3 separate regions of the Homo sapiens genome follow, and all the other regions are linked to region 1. The links are contacts of gene promoters, found by promoter capture Hi-C in human tissues and cell types (Jung and others, 2019). All regions are on one chromosome and are shown on one strand. Each heading gives the region's core, a stretch centred on a gene start or on the middle of the fragment in contact. The rest is flanking DNA. Distances are from core to core; before and after follow the strand shown. Region 1 holds the start of DMWD (DM1 locus, WD repeat containing). Region 2 overlaps PRKD2 (protein kinase D2). Region 3 has its middle 48 kb from the start of PNMA8B.

Evidence for each region. Contacts are between HindIII fragments. The study calls those that stand out against the background at their distance.
Region 2: a fragment that was not itself captured here is called in contact with the fragment with the promoter of DMWD in region 1 in 1 of the 25 tissues and cell types used here (psoas muscle).
Region 3: a fragment that was not itself captured here is called in contact with the fragment with the promoter of DMWD in region 1 in 2 of the 25 tissues and cell types used here (dorsolateral prefrontal cortex and hippocampus).

Annotation. Positions count from the first base shown.
Region 1 is chr19:45,790,502-45,795,423 of GRCh38, forward strand. DMWD (DM1 locus, WD repeat containing) reads right to left here and starts at 2,344. Exons shown (of 5, transcript NM_004943.2): 1 at 1,815-2,344; 2 at 404-586. The coding sequence starts at 2,255. RefSeq lists enhancers at 715-774, 795-844 and a silencer at 1,993-2,472. The HindIII fragment of the contact is 5,315 bases long and covers 1,077-4,922 here.
Region 2 is chr19:46,708,478-46,713,399 of GRCh38, forward strand. It overlaps PRKD2 (protein kinase D2), which reads right to left. Exons shown (of 18, transcript NM_016457.5): 3 at 2,430-2,561. MIR320E (microRNA 320e) reads right to left here and starts at 877; the gene lies at 805-877. RefSeq lists an enhancer at 1,372-2,190. The HindIII fragment of the contact is 4,265 bases long and covers 276-4,540 here.
Region 3 is chr19:46,541,213-46,546,134 of GRCh38, forward strand. It overlaps the pseudogene PPP5D1P. Among named protein-coding and RNA genes, the nearest start is that of PNMA8B, 48 kb to the left of the region's middle. The HindIII fragment of the contact is 3,360 bases long and covers 1,102-4,461 here.

The sequences.
Region 1 (4,922 bases), core at 1,094-3,593:
AATTAGGCGGGCGTGGCAGCAGGTGCCTGAAGTCCCAGCTACTCAGGAGGCTGAGGCAGGAGAATGGCATGAACCCGGGAGGTGGATCTTGCAGTGAGCAGAGATCGCGCCACTGCACTCCAGCCTGGGTGACAGGGTGAGACTCCATCTCAAAATAAATAAATAAAAGAAAGAAAGAAAGAAAGAAAACCCAAGGAGTAAAGTATTCAGCACAAGGGTAACACAGCACAGGGCCTGGGTACAGTAAAGGCAGCTGTCATTAGCTGCTGTCACCCCATTCTCCATCTCTCCCTGGTCCTGCCCCTCTCAGGCCTACACTGTTCCGCAGGCAGCTGCATCCTAATGGCATATAGTGGGTAGGTGAGAAGGCAGAGAAGTTGGGGGCTCTGGGGGCTGCAATCACCTCCTCATTGAACAGCTTGCTGGTGTCCTTTTTGATGAGATCCAGGTACTGCACTTGACCCGCTGAGAAGCCCACCAGCAGCGAGATGGTCTCGGTGGCAGCAGTGAACTGGTTGAAATCGTGGCAGGTGGGCTGGGTGCCCTTGTAGATCCGCTTGTCAATTGGCTTGTTGAGGTCAATGGACTTGAGGGGTGGGAGAAAAGGAGTTAATGGTGTATGCCACTGAGGAGAAGGAAGAGGATGTTGAGGTTGGGGGAAACCACTAAGAGGAAGCAGGGTTAGAACCCAGAGGGAAGTGGGGAGGTGAGTAGGTGGATTGCGAAGGACGGGGCAACCACAGACGGGAAGGGGACCCAAATCACAGACAAGAGTAGCAAAAAAGATGGTAAGGATCCCCCTTGACCACAGTGCCTCCCCAAAGTTGGGTCACCTCTAATTCAGAGACACCCTTGTCCACATAATCAGGGTTCTGGGTCCACACAGTTCCTAAGCTCCGATTCCTTTTAGCCTCACCACTCCATCCTATAACCTCAGCAACTCCCTTGGGACCTAGTACCACACTATTCCAAGACCCCCAAACCTTGAGGTCACCCAAATTTCCAGGACTCTAAAGCCTAACATCCTAGCATTCTCTTCACTTTGTAGTCCCTAAACCGCCACAGTTCTGGGACCCGTCAAACCTCACGGTCTCCCACATTTTAGGCCCATTTATTACCTAGGGGCTCCGAAGGATCCCCATCATTTCTGGGATCACCATAAACGGCCAGGGTTCTCACCACATCGCTTTAGAGATGTCCTGAATCACACCTGCAGATTCCCCTGCCAGGGCCTCTCATTCCCTTGAGAGCTCCCATCAGCTTCCGGACGCTCATCTCCTCCAGGACCCTCATGACTTCCAGACCCCAATTTTCTCTAGAATCCCATTCAGCTTCTGGATCCCCTATCACCTTCAAGGCCCCCATCACTTCTAGACTTCTCCTCATTCCTGGGCTCAATCTCAAGACCCCTCTCCCACACCTCCAGGCTGCAATACTGGGTTCTCCATCACCTCTGGGCTTGCATCACCTCATGATTCCCCATTACCTGCAGAATGCCTGCCACCCCAGAACCCGGGGGATCCCACCTCATCTCAGATACCCCATCATGTCCAATAGTCACCATCCCAGAACTCCTACGCATAACGGGGGTAAAGGGGATTTCCCCCATCACCTCCAAGATGCCTGCCCAGCACCCCGCGGGCCTCTCATCACATTTCAGAATCCTGTACTCCCTCCAATGCTGTCGCCCTACAACGTCCATCACATTTAGAATGCCTATCTCAGGGCCCCATATCAATTCGGGGACCCTCCTATCAGTTCTCTGGAACCTCCATCCTTTCAGCACCCAGGGCCCCACGATGCAGGCCGCTCACCCGTTGGCTCCCACGACGACAGCAGCCTGGGTAGAAATAGAGCTCACGGCCCAAGTTGAAGCAGACGCGGTCTCCCCCCGAGCCCAGCCCCGCGGGCGTGGCGGGCGGCTCCCCGGCCCCGGCGCTGTCCGGCTCCCCGAGGCGCACGAGGCTGAGGCGCACGGCGGGCAGGGCGGGCCCGGGTCCGGGGCCTGCGGGCGGCGGGGACGACGCGGGGCCTGCAGCGCCGGGACCGGAGGCGGAGGCAGGGCCGGGCGGGGGCTGCGGTGGCTGAGGCGGCACCGGAGTCTGGGCGGAAGCCGGACCCGACCTGCGAGCGGCGCCGTCGCCCGGGAGTAGCTTGTAGAAACCCTCGCGCGTGCGGAATTGCGACTTAATCTCCGCGCAGTCCCCCATGGCGGCGCCGGGGCCCGAGCCGCCCTCCGCGCCGCCCGCCGCCATCTTGGGCGCCCCCCGGGCCCCGCCACTGCCGGACTGCCGCCCGCAGCCGGGCCCCCTCCCGGAAGCCGCTGGCCCGCGCCGGAAAAGGTGGGGTCGTCGCCCGGGCAACGCCTCTTCGATTGGCACCCAGATCCGGAGGCGGGACGAATCCCCGCGGTCGCTCGGGTAACGGTGCTGGGACTGTGGGCGGGGCGAGAAGGTGGGCGCGGCCTTTGAGCCTGTGACCGACTTGTGGTTGGCTGCGGGGGCGGAGCCCGCAATGGAAAGAGGCGTGGCCAGTTAGAAAGCTCAAGTCCTTAGCAACCGCGCCCTGGGAACGTTTGCCTAGCAACGGAGGGATTTTTTTTTTTTTTTCCCCCACGACAAAGAAGCCCTCATCCATAGTCCAGCCTTCCCATGAAGTCACAGCCAACCCCAAGTGACCCTGGTCTCTCCTTAGACGCCCAATATACACTCCCCTGACCTCCAGTGTTTCCCACTGACATATTCAAATCCCTGAATGACCACAGCATCTGCTACCATTCTTCCCCACCCTTGGTGACCCACCAAATCCCTGTGTCCCCACACAACTCAGAGGACTTCCTCTGACCCACTATTGATTAATGCTAACTCCAAACATCCTTCATATTTTCCACCAACCTCCAATGTATATTTCCATGATTTTCTTATTTTCAACAACCTCACTTGTCCTCCAAAACCTACCTCTGATTCCCAAATTGTATTGATCCCCACGGTGCCCCAGTGTCCCAGTGATCCACTCGTAACCCAAAGTCTCCCCCTGATCCCAACAGCTCCTACTCATAGCCAGTGCTCCCCATGTCTGCTGAAGCCACCCAGCCCCATCATAGATCTTTCTAGTCTCATGTAGTCAATGGCCTCTACGATTTCTCCCTAGAGTGTCCCAAGGGCATCTCACACTTAAAAAAAAAAATCCTACAATGGTTCGGGCATGGTGGCTCATGCCTGGAATCCGAGAATCCCAGCACTTTGGGAGGCTGAGGTGGGAGGATCGTTTGAGCCCAGGAGATCAAGACTGCTATGAATTCACATCACTGCACTAAAGCCTGGGGGACAGAGTCAGACTCAGTCTCTCTAAAAAAAAAAAAAAAAGAAAGAAAAAAGAATCCTACAATGAAATTGACGTCTTACACCAAATCCTCCACCTCTCTTGCATCCCCACCTTAGGGCTAGCTCTGCCGTCCACTCAGTCAACCAGGCCACAGACCTGGGTGTCTTCCTAGATGTGTACCATTTATCTTCACTCTGCCCCCGCTTACAGCCTCCAAGTCTTTTGCATTCGACCACGTGGAATTCCTCTTTCTCAGTTCCTTGTTCTCCCTGATCCAAGCTTCTCCTCTACCCAAGCCCTTCCCCCACCCCCACATCAACCGTGTCTCTTGGTCTCCCAGATTTCTGTCTCACCCCCACTTCCACCTTTCACTTGGCATGTAGAGAGGTTTTATTTTGTTTTTGTTTTTGTTTTTTTTGAGACAGTCTCACCCTGTCACCCAGGCTGGAGTGCAATGGCTCCATCTCGGCTCAGAGACGGGGTTTCACCATGTTGGCCAGTCTGGTCTCGAACTCCTGACCTCAGGTGATCCACCCACCTCGGCCTCCCAAAGTGCTGGGAGTACAGGCATGAGCCACTGCACCCGGCTTTTTTTTTTTTTTTTTTTTTTTTTGAGACAGAGTCTCGCTCTTGTCACGTGGGCTGGAGTGCAATGGGACGATTTTGGCTCACTGCAACCTCTGCCTCCTGGGTTCAAGTGATTCTCCTGCCTTAGCCTCCTGAGTGGCTGGGATTACAGGCACCTGCCACCACACCCAGCTACTTTTTTGTAGTTTTAGTAGAGACGGGGTTTCACCATGTTGGGCATGCTGGTCTCAAACTCCTGACCTCAGGTGATCCGCCAACCTTGGCCTCCCTAAGTGCTGGGATTACATGTGTGACCCACTGCACTAGGCCTAGAGAGGTCTTTCTAAAGCATGAATATGATCAGGGCCCTCCCCTGCTCAAAACCCATCTGTAGCTCCCTAGTGCTCTCAGGGGAAAGTTAAGCCCCAAGTGATCTGGCCCCTGCCAACCTCTTTTCAATCTCATATCTCACCACTAACTCCTCACACTATCCACCACCTAAAATGAGGCTTGAAAAACTACCCCAACATATCACACTCTCTCTTGTCCTTGGGTCTTTGCACATTCTGTTCCCTATTCTTGGAATGCCTTTCCCCATTCTTTTCTTGACCCTTTAAGAGTTGGCTCGGGAGCTCTGTCAGTCCTCTGGGCTTCCCCATTTGGGCTGTCACTGTCTGGAAATGAGTCTCTCTCCCTATAGTGTTGTGAGGTCCAGGAAGGCAGGACTGCAGCTGTCTGTGTCCCCAGCACAGGGGTGGGCTGACAGGAGGTATTTCAATAATGGTTTGATGGCTAGGTAAATGAATAAATAAAACAGGTGGGGCTGGTCGCGGTGGCTCACAGCTGTATCCTAACACTTTGGGAGGCCAAGACAGGCAGATCGCTTGATGCCAGGAGTTCAAGACCAGCTTGGGCAACATAAACCCCATCTCATAGTGAGACTCTGAAAAATTGAAAAAATTTAGCTGGGCATGGTGGGCTGTGCCTGCAGTCCTAGTTACTCAGGACCCTGTCTCTACAAAAAATACAAA
Region 2 (4,922 bases), core at 1,158-3,657, 920 kb after region 1:
TGGCCAATTTGTTGTATTTTTTAGAGACGGGGTTTCACCATGTTGCCCATGCTGGTCTCGAACTCCTGGACTCAAGCGATCCACCATCCTCCCAAAGTGCTGGGATTATAGGCATGAGCCACCATGCCTGGCCTTCCTTATAAAGGGAAGAGATACCAGGGATCTCTCTCTCCGTGTCCCATGTGAGCGCACAGTGAAATGATGGCCCTCTGCAAGGCAGGAAAGCAGGCTACACCAGAAACAGAACCCTGCCAGAATCTGGATCTTTGTCTTTCCAGCCTCTCACAATTCCAGGGATTTTGAGAAGTAAATGTCTGTCATTTAAGCCACGCAGGGTGGTATTTTGTTAAGGCAGCCCTGACAAACTAAGACAGGTGCCAGGTTGACAAGAGATGGACCCTGATAGTCATGTTAATGTGTCAGCTTGGCTAGGCGAGATCCACAGTTATTCAGACACTAATCTAGATGTTGCCATGAAGGTTGGTTTGTTTGTGGTTTTTTTTTTTTTTTTTTTTTTTGAGACGGAGTCTCGCTCTGTTGCCAGGCTGGAGTGCAGTGGCACGATCTCGGCTCACTGCAACCTCTGTCTCCTGGGTTCAAGTGATTCTCCTACCTCAGCCTCCCAAGTAGCTGGGACTATAGGCACATGCCACCACGCCCGCTAATTTTTGTATTTTTAGGAGAGATGGGGTTTCACCATGTTGGCCAGGGTGGTCTCAATCTCTTGACCTCATGATCCGCCTGCCTCAGCCTCCAAAGTGCTGGGGTTACAGGTGTGAACCACTGTGCCCAGTCAAGGTTTGTTTTTTCTTTTCACCTTCTCAACCCAGCTTTTCCCCGACTCCAGGAAGAACTGGGAAGAGAAGGCCCCATGGAGGTATTTTCTTTTCTTTTCATTTTTTTGAGACAGAGTTTTGCTCTTGTTGCCCAGGCTGGAGTGTAATGGTGCAATCTCAGCTCACTGCAAGCTCTGCCTCCCGGGTTCAAGAGATTCTCCTGACTGAGCCTCCCGAGTAGCTGGAATTACAGGCGTCCACCAACACGCCGGCTTTTTTGTATTTTTAGTAGAGACGGGGTTTCACCATGTTGGACAGGCTGGTCTCGAACTCCTGACCTCAGGTGATTCACCTGCCTCGGCCTCCCAGAGTGCTGGGATTACAGGCGTGAGCCACCGCACCCGGCCCAGTGGAGGTATTTTCTGGATGTGATGAAAATCCATAATCAGCTGACTGTAAGTGGGAGAGGTGATCCTGCTTGTTCTAGGTGGGTCTCATTCAATCAGCTGAATGTTTTAAAAAGCAGATCAGAGACTTTTCGGATGAAGAAATTCCACCTGTGGACATCAGCTTCAGCTTGTGCCTGAGTTCCCACTTGCCCTTCCTGATAGGATGGATTTTTTTTTCTTTTTCTTTTTATTGTTTTGTTTTTGTTTCTGTTTTCAGAAGGAGTCTCACTCTATCACCAGGCTGGAGTGCAGTGGCACAATCTCGGCTCACTGCAACCTCCTCCTCTCAGGTCCAAGCAATTCTCCTGCCTCAGCCTCCCAAGTAGCTGGGACTACAGGCGTGTGCCACCACGTCCGGCTAATTTTTTGTATTTTTAGTAGAGACGGGGTTTCACCATGTTAGCCAGGAGGGTCTCAATCTCCTGACCTCGTGATCCACCCGCCTCGGCCTCCCAAAGTGCTGGGATTACAGGCATGAGCCACCGTGTCCGGCCTTTTTCCTGTTTTTGAGCCAGGGTCTCGCTCTGTCACCCAGGCTGGTGTGCAGTGGTGCAATCAGGGCTCACTACAGTGTCGAGCTCCCAGGCTCAAGTGATCCTCCCGCCTCAGCCTCCCAAGTGGCTGGGACCACAAGTGTCTGTCACCATGCTTGGCTAATTATTTTTTGTACAGGCAGAGTCTTGCTATGTTGCCCAGGCTGGTCTTGAACTCCTGGCCTCAAGTGATCCACCTACCTTTGCCTCCCAAAGTGCTGGGATTACTGGCCTCCCCCACTGTGCCCAGCCAGATTTGAGTTGCCTAGCCAGCCCACACAATTCTGTAAGCTGATTCCTTGCATATAAATATCTCAATATATATCTCCTCCTGGATGTTTCTCTGCTTGATCCCTAACTGATAGAGGCCCCACCCTCTTCCCCCGCCACCCTTCTGCTCCCCTAGGCTCTGTTCTTAAGCCCCTACTTGTCCCTCCCAGCTCCACCTCCTAGGCTCCGCCCCTAGACCTGAGCCCCGGCCCAGCCCCACCACTCCTTCCCCAAGCTCTGCTTCTGGGCCCATCCTTCTTCCCATTATTACTTCCTAGGCTGCGCCCCCAGCTCTGAGACCCGCTCCTCCTCCCCACGCTGTCCCCGTGCCAGGACCATTACGCTCCGCCCCCGGTGCAGAGCCCCGCCCCAGGCCCCGCCCCCAACCCTTTAGCTCTCACCATCGCACTTGAGGCCCTGGCGCACTAGGCCGAAGAGCATCTCCCCGCAGTGATCACAGAAGGCAGGCGCCCGATAGGAGTGCACCGTGAGGGCGTGCGGGCGGATCTGGAAGTCCTCGAAGGTGGCCGAGGCTGTAGGCGGAAAATAGGGGTGGATGCTTGAGGCGGGGTAGGCCAAAGCTTTTCCAGACCCCACGTTCCCTGATTTCTCACAGTGCTCCCAGCCGCAAGGTGTGATCTTTCCTTCCTTCCTTCATTTGCTCTCATACTACATTCTGCCTGGGTTCAAATCCCAGCTCCACCCCTGAACAAAACACATATATCCCTACGCCCTGGGCAGGGACAGAGCGGGAATTGGGGAGTTGTTTAACGGGCAAGGAGCTTCAGTTTCGCAAGATGACAACAGTTCTGGAGACCGGCTGCACAACAGTGTGCGTGAACTTTAAATTACTGAACTGTACGCTTAAAAGTGCTTAAAATGTTGTGGGCTTTTTTGTTTGTGTTTGTTAGAGAGTTTCACTCTGTCACCCAGGCTGGAGTACAGTAGTGAGATCTCGGCTCACCACAAGTCCGCCTCCCGGGTTCAAGCAGTTCTCCTGCCTCAGCCTCCAGAGTAGCTGGGATTACAGGCATGCGCCACCACACCCGACTAATTTTTGTATTTTTAGTAGAGACGGAGTTTCACCATGTTGGCCAGGATGGTCTCAAACTCCCGACCTCAGGTGATCTGCCCGCCTCGGTCTCTCAAAGTGTTGGGATTACAGGCGTGAGCCACTGCACCCGGCCTAAAATAGTAATTTTTATGTTATGTATATTTTACCAAATTAAAAAATTTTTAATTAAAAATACCACCACCAACAACAAAAAAGAACATGGATAGGCGGTGCCCGGTGGCTCACATCTGTAATCCCAGCACTTTGGGAGGCCCAGGTGGGCGGATCACTTGAGGTCAGAAGTTCGAAACCAGCCTGGCCAACATGATGAAACCCCGTCTCTACTAAAAATACAAAAATTAGCCAGGCCTGGTGCCGCGTGCCTGTAATCCCAGCTACTCAGGAGGCTGAGGCAGGAGAATTGCTTGAACCCGGGAGGCAGAGGTTGCCGTGAGCCAAGATCATGCCACGGCACTCCAGCCTGGGTGACAGAGTAAGATTCTGTCTAAAAAAAAGAAAAAAAAAAAAAGCCCAGTGTGGTGGTGCATGCCTGTAATGCCTATAGTCCAGCCACCTCAGGAGGCTGAGGCGGGATGATTGCTTCAGTCTGGGAGGTAGAGGCTGCAGTGAGTGGTGGTCATGCCACTGCATTCCAGCCTGGGTGACAGAACAAGACCCTGCCTCAAAACAAAATAACAGGGCCGGGAGCGGTGGCTCACACCTGTAATCGCAGCACTTTGGGAGGCTGAGGTGGGCAGATCACTTAAGATCAGCAGTTCGAGACCAGCCTGGCCAACAAGGTGAAATCCCGTCTCTACTAAAAATACAAAAATTAGCCACGTGTGGTAGCAGGCGCCTGTAATCCCAGCTACTCGGGAGGCTGAGGCAGGAGAATCGCTTGAACCCAGGAGGCAGAGGTTGCAGCAAGCTGAGTTTGCGCCACTGCACTCCAGCCTGGGTGACAGAGCGAGACTCCGTCTAAAAAAACAAAAAATAATAAAAATGACAAAAACAAAACAAAACTCAGGTTTAGGGGAGAGACAACAATGAAGATAAAAATTCAAGTGAGGCCAGCTTATGATATGAAAGAGTACTTAAAGCCTGAACAAGGTCACTAAAGGTGTAAATCCAGACTTCTGTCATTCATTCATTGAGCCGGTTTCACTGGGCACTGCAGTATGCCGGAGCAGCAGGGAAGGCAGCCATGAAAAAGGCAGCTGCCCCCACCCTCAAGAGGGACCAAGGGCCATAGACTGCTCTAAGGTGCTGAGAGCATGCCCATCTATACTACTGGAATAGTGAGTGGATGAACTGGCTTCTGGCTGTGTCTTAGAAAATCACCTGGGGGCTTTTAAAAATACTGATGTGCAGATTCCATCTCACTTTGCAGAGATTCTGATTTAATTTAGCATTTTCGTGGCAGGAGCCATGGACATCATAACTTTTTTTTTTCTTTTTCTACTTTTTTTCTTTTTTAGAGATAGGGTCTCTCTCTGTTGCCCAGGCTGGAGTGCAGTGACATGATCGTGGCTCACTGCAGCCTCAAACTCCTAAGCTCAAGAAATCCTCCCACCTCAGCCTCCCAAGTAGCTGAGACTACAGACGTGTGCCACCTCGCCCGGTTAACTTTTTTTTTTTTTTTTTTTTTTAAGAGATGGGGTCTCCTTATGTTGCCCAGGCTGGTCTCAAACTCCTGGGCTCCAGCGATCCTCCCACCTCAGCCTCCCAAACTGCTGGGATTACAGGTGTGAGCCACTGCAGCTGGCCCATTTTTTACCTTTATATTTAAGCATAACACAGTCAGTTACAGATCCAACTCCTTCTTCTCCTCTTTTCCCCC
Region 3 (4,922 bases), core at 1,532-4,031, 750 kb after region 1:
CTGAATTATACTGGCACTGAGGAGATGCTCAGTAAATGTAAACTGAATGAATGAAAAAATGAGGCCGGGCGCGGTGGCTCACGCCTGTAATCCCAGCACTTTGGGAGGCTGAGGCGGGCGGATCATCTGAGGTCAGGAGTTTGAGACCAGCCTGGCCAACATGGTGAAACCCCGTCTCCACTAAAAATATGAAATTTAGCCGGACGTGGTGGCAGGAGCCTGTAATCCCAGCTACTCGGGAGGCTGAGGCAGGAGAATCGCTTGACTCCGGGAGGCAGAGGTTGCAGGGAGCTGAGATCTCACCATTGCACTCCAGCCTGGGTGACAAGAGTGAGACTCAGTCTCCAAAAAACAAACAAACAAAAAAAAACAAATAAAAACAAAGAATGGACATTGGATCTATATATATCATGTTTATTTCCTGGGTGAATTGTAAGCAAAAAGCTTGCCTATAAGACAGAATGTTAAGCCCAGTGGTCTTGTGTGGATTCTTTCTGGAATGTAACTCTTCATCTTGAGACTGTGGTTCCTATAAAGTTTGTTTCAAGTGTTTATTATATTTAATTATTGCATTTTTTTGAGACAGGGTCTCACTCCATTGCCCAGGCTGGAGTGCAGTGGTGCAAACATAGCTCACTGCAGCCTTGGCCTCCTGGGCTTAAGTGGTCCTCCCATCTCAGATTCCCAGTGTTGGGATTACAGGCATGAGCCACCACGCTTAGCAAAGTCAGTGCTTTCAAACATAAAAAAAAAAAAGCCCGTTCTCTCTTGCAGCTGTATAGGAAGGGGTTCTATTCTGCATCATGAAATTGCTCTAAATAATTAGTTTTTTCACTTTAGGAGGCCGAGGAGGGCGGATCACTTGAAGTCAGGAGTTTGAGACCAGCCTGGCCAACATGGTGAAACTCCATCCCTACTAAAAATACAAAAAAATTAGCCGGGCGTGGTGGCAGGCACCTATCATCCCTGCTACTCGGGAGGCTGAGGCAGGAAAATCGCTTGAACCTGGGAGGCGAAGTTTGCATTGAACCGAGATCACGCCACTGCACTCCAGCCTGGGTGACAGAGCAAGACTCTGTCTACAAAAAAAAAAAAAAAAAAAAAAAAAATCAATTTTAATAGAGTGGCACATTGAGAACATACCCTAAACATTCATTCTGTTCTCCCGTGCAGCCAGGAGCTCCAGTTAATTTTCCTGTTACCAGCCTCATTTGTTAACTCTGTTCATTTGTGTCTTTCCTTGAAAGGATAATTTGAACAAAAGAGTCTAAGATTTTTTTAGAAATTGTTGCAATATCTGAAAAAAAAAAAAAAGAACCTCCCAAAGAAACCTGCATTCTGATTGGTTGTCTTCCTTGATTATTTGTTGCTATGGTGACCAGGAGGTTAAATAGCATCTCTGTATTTCCTAAAGAATAAATACTGGTTGGTTTTCTCTGGCAAATCAGAAAAGGATCATTTCTCTCCTTCCATGATCATGATGCAATAAAAGCCTAGGGCTCTTCTAGATTTATATTTTATCAAAGAAAGTGAGAGTCTTGTCTTATCCAAATTAACAGAAGCACTTAGTCCAGTGTCCAGTCGCTTGAGTGGCGGTGGCCACTCTCGGAAGGGCAATTACAAACTGTACTAATAGTAAGTCCAGCGCGCCATCTGGTGGCCAATTAGAGAATAGCATGACCGTATCTACTTAAACTAAAAGGCGACTCACCTCCCTTCTTGTCTGTTAAGGCTGCCCTAGCAAATTAATACAATAAGCTTGTTCCTGTTGGTCTTAGTCTGATTGAGAAAGAACCCTTGACTGCTTTGACCCATAGAATATGACAGATGTGACACTGTGCTGGGCATGGCGGCTCACGCCTGTAATTCCAACACCGAGAAGCAGAGGTGGGCGGATCGCTTGATCCCAAGACTGCAAGACCAACCTGGGCAACACAGAAAGACCCCAACTCTACTAAAAATAACTTTTTTGTTTTGTTGTGAGACGGAGTTTCGCTCTTGTCGCCCAGGCTGGAGTGCAATGGCGTGATCTCGGCTCACCACAGACTCCGCCTCCTGGGTTCAAGCGATTCTCCTGCCTCAGCCTCCCGAGTAGCTGGAATGACAGGGGTCCGCCACCGCACGTGGCTAATTTTGTATTTTTAGTAGAGACAGGGTATATCCATGTTGGTCAGGCTGGTCTTGAACTCCCGACTTCCACCCACCTCCGCCTCCCAAACTGTTGGGATTACAGGCGTGAGCCACCACTCCCGGCCAAAAATATAACTTTTAAAAATAGGCTGGCGTGGTGGCCCGCACCTGTAGTCCCAGCTACTCGGGAGGCTGAGGCAAGAGGATCCCTTGAGCCTAGGAGGTAGAGGCTGCGGTGAGCTATGATGGCGCCGCTGCACTCCAGCCTGGGTGACAGAACGAGACCCTGTCTAAACAAACAAACAAACAAACAAACAAGTGACACCGCCAGGCCTGGATCTACATTTTAAGGGAACCAGCAGATTCCGTCGTGATCTCTTTGGCTCCCAGGCTACTGTGTAAGAATTGCAACTCCCCAGCCGGGCGCGGTGGCTCACGCCTGTAATCCCAGCACTTTGGGAGGCCAAGGCGGCGGATCACGAGGTCAGGAGATCGTGACCATCCTGGCTAACACGGTGAAACCCCGTCTCTACTAAAAATACAAAAATTAGCCGGGCGTGGTGGCAGGCGCCTGCAGTCCCAGCTACTCGGGAGACTGAGGCAAGAGAATGGTGTGAACCCAGGAGGTGGAGCTTTCAGTGAGCCCAGATCGCGGCCACTGCACTCCAGCCTAGGCGACAGAGCGAAACTCCGTCTCAAATAAATAAATAAATAAATAATAAAAAAAGAATTGCAGCTCCCCTAAGAGCATGGAGCTGTGAGAAGGCCCAGGAGAATTGAAGCTTCCAGACATGGGAGTGAAGAAGCCATCTTGGAGGTGGGTCCTCCAGCCCTCATCACATGATGCCACGTGGAACAGAAATGAACATCCAGTCAAACCCTTTTCACATTCCTGACCCACAAAATCCTGAACAAGCTTGGGAATTAAGCTATTACTGTGCCATTTTTTGTTGTTGTTGTTTTTGTTTTTTCTTTTTGTTTTGTTTTGGGTTTTTTTTTTTTTTTTTTTTTTTGGTTTTCTGGGTTTTATTTGAGATAGAGTTCTGCTCTTGTTGCCCAGGCTGGAGTGCAATGGCACTATCTCGGCTCACTGCAACCTCCGCCTCCTGGGTTCAAGTGATTCTCCTGCCTCAGCCTCCTGAATAGCTGAGATTACAGGTGCCCACCACCACGCCCGGCTAATTTTTGTATTTTTAGTAGAGACAGTGTTTCGCCACGTTGGCCAGGCTGGTCTCAAACTCCTGACCTCAAGTGATCCGCCCACCTCGGCCTCCCAAAATGCTGGGATTACAGGCGTGAGCCACCGCCTGCGGCCATTGTGCCACTTTTATAGAGGAGGAGATTGAGGTTCAGAGGCCCAGTTGATGGTCCAAGATCACACACTGGGAAGTACTGGAACCAGGGTTATGAAATCCTGTCTGCTTGGCTGCAAAGCCTCTACTCTTCCACACTGCATTATTTAGGAAGACAGACAGGCTTTGGGCACGAGCGTGGGCCTCACTGAGGGGAGAGGGGCCTTCTGGCCTCAGTAATATCCCTGTTCCCTTCTCTGACTGTCACTTCCCCCTTAGAGACAGAGTTTCTGCAGAGTGGAGTCTCTTCTCACGCCTGGGAGAGTTTGTGCAGGAGACATGAGAGCTGAAGATCTGGCACCACCTTTGCCTTAAAGACAAAAGGTGACATTTGGGAAAAGCATGCCACTCTTCGAGTGGTACTTAAGGATCCATGGGCTGAATCTGCCTTTTTTTCCCCAACTGATTTGGCAAGGACCTTCAAATAAATCCAGTGGAGCTTCTTGGGGCAGCATGGCCCACTCTCAAGAGTTTAGCCTTTGAGTCATGTGTGGTGGCTCGTGCCTATAATCCCAGCACTTTGGGAGGCCGAGGCAGGCTCACTTGAGGTCAGGAGTTCAAGACCAACCTAGCCAACATGGTGAAACCCCATCTCTGCTAAAAATACAAAAATCAGCTGGGCATGGTGGCAGGCACCTGTAATCCCAGCTACTCAGGAGGCTGAGGGAGGAGAATCGCTTGAACCCAGGAGGCAGAGGTGGCAGTGAACTGAGATCGCACTACTGTACTCCAGCCTGGGCAACAGAGCAAGACTCTGTCTCAAAAAAAAAAAAAAAAAAAAGAGAGAGAGAGAGAGAATTTAGCCTTTGGACTCGCACAGATCTAGGTTCAAACTCCAGCTTTGCTACTGCAGCCTCAGCGCACTTATCTGTAGAATGGGATTTCAAAATGATGTCTGCTTCTCAAAGTTGCTTTGAGAATTTGCTGATATTTTGTCTTTAAAATACTTCATTGTGTGCTGCCTTACACAAAGATCAGAATCTCTGAAAGGACAGGACAGGAACTTTTTACTCACTCACTGCTTCACTCACTGCTGTATGCCCAGTGCTTTCAAAAGCACCTGGGGCTGGGCGCGGTGGCTCATGCCTATAATCCCAGCAGTTTGGGAGGCAGAAGAGAGCAGATAACCTGAGATCAGGAGTTCAAGACCAGCCTGGCCAACATGGCAAAACCCCGTCTCTACTAAAAATCCAAAAAAAAAAAAAATTAGCCAGGCATGGTGGCGCATGCCTGTAATCCCAGCTACTCAGGAGGCTAAGGCATGAGAATTGCTTGAACCCGGGAAGCGGAGGTTGCAATGATCCGAAATCAAGCCACTGCACTCCAGCCTAGGCTCCATCTCATAAAAAAAAAATAATTAAAAACAGTAAAAATAAATAAAAAGCACTCAGCGTGGGATTTTCAATAAATAGTTACTGAATGAGTAAATCAAAAGCAGTC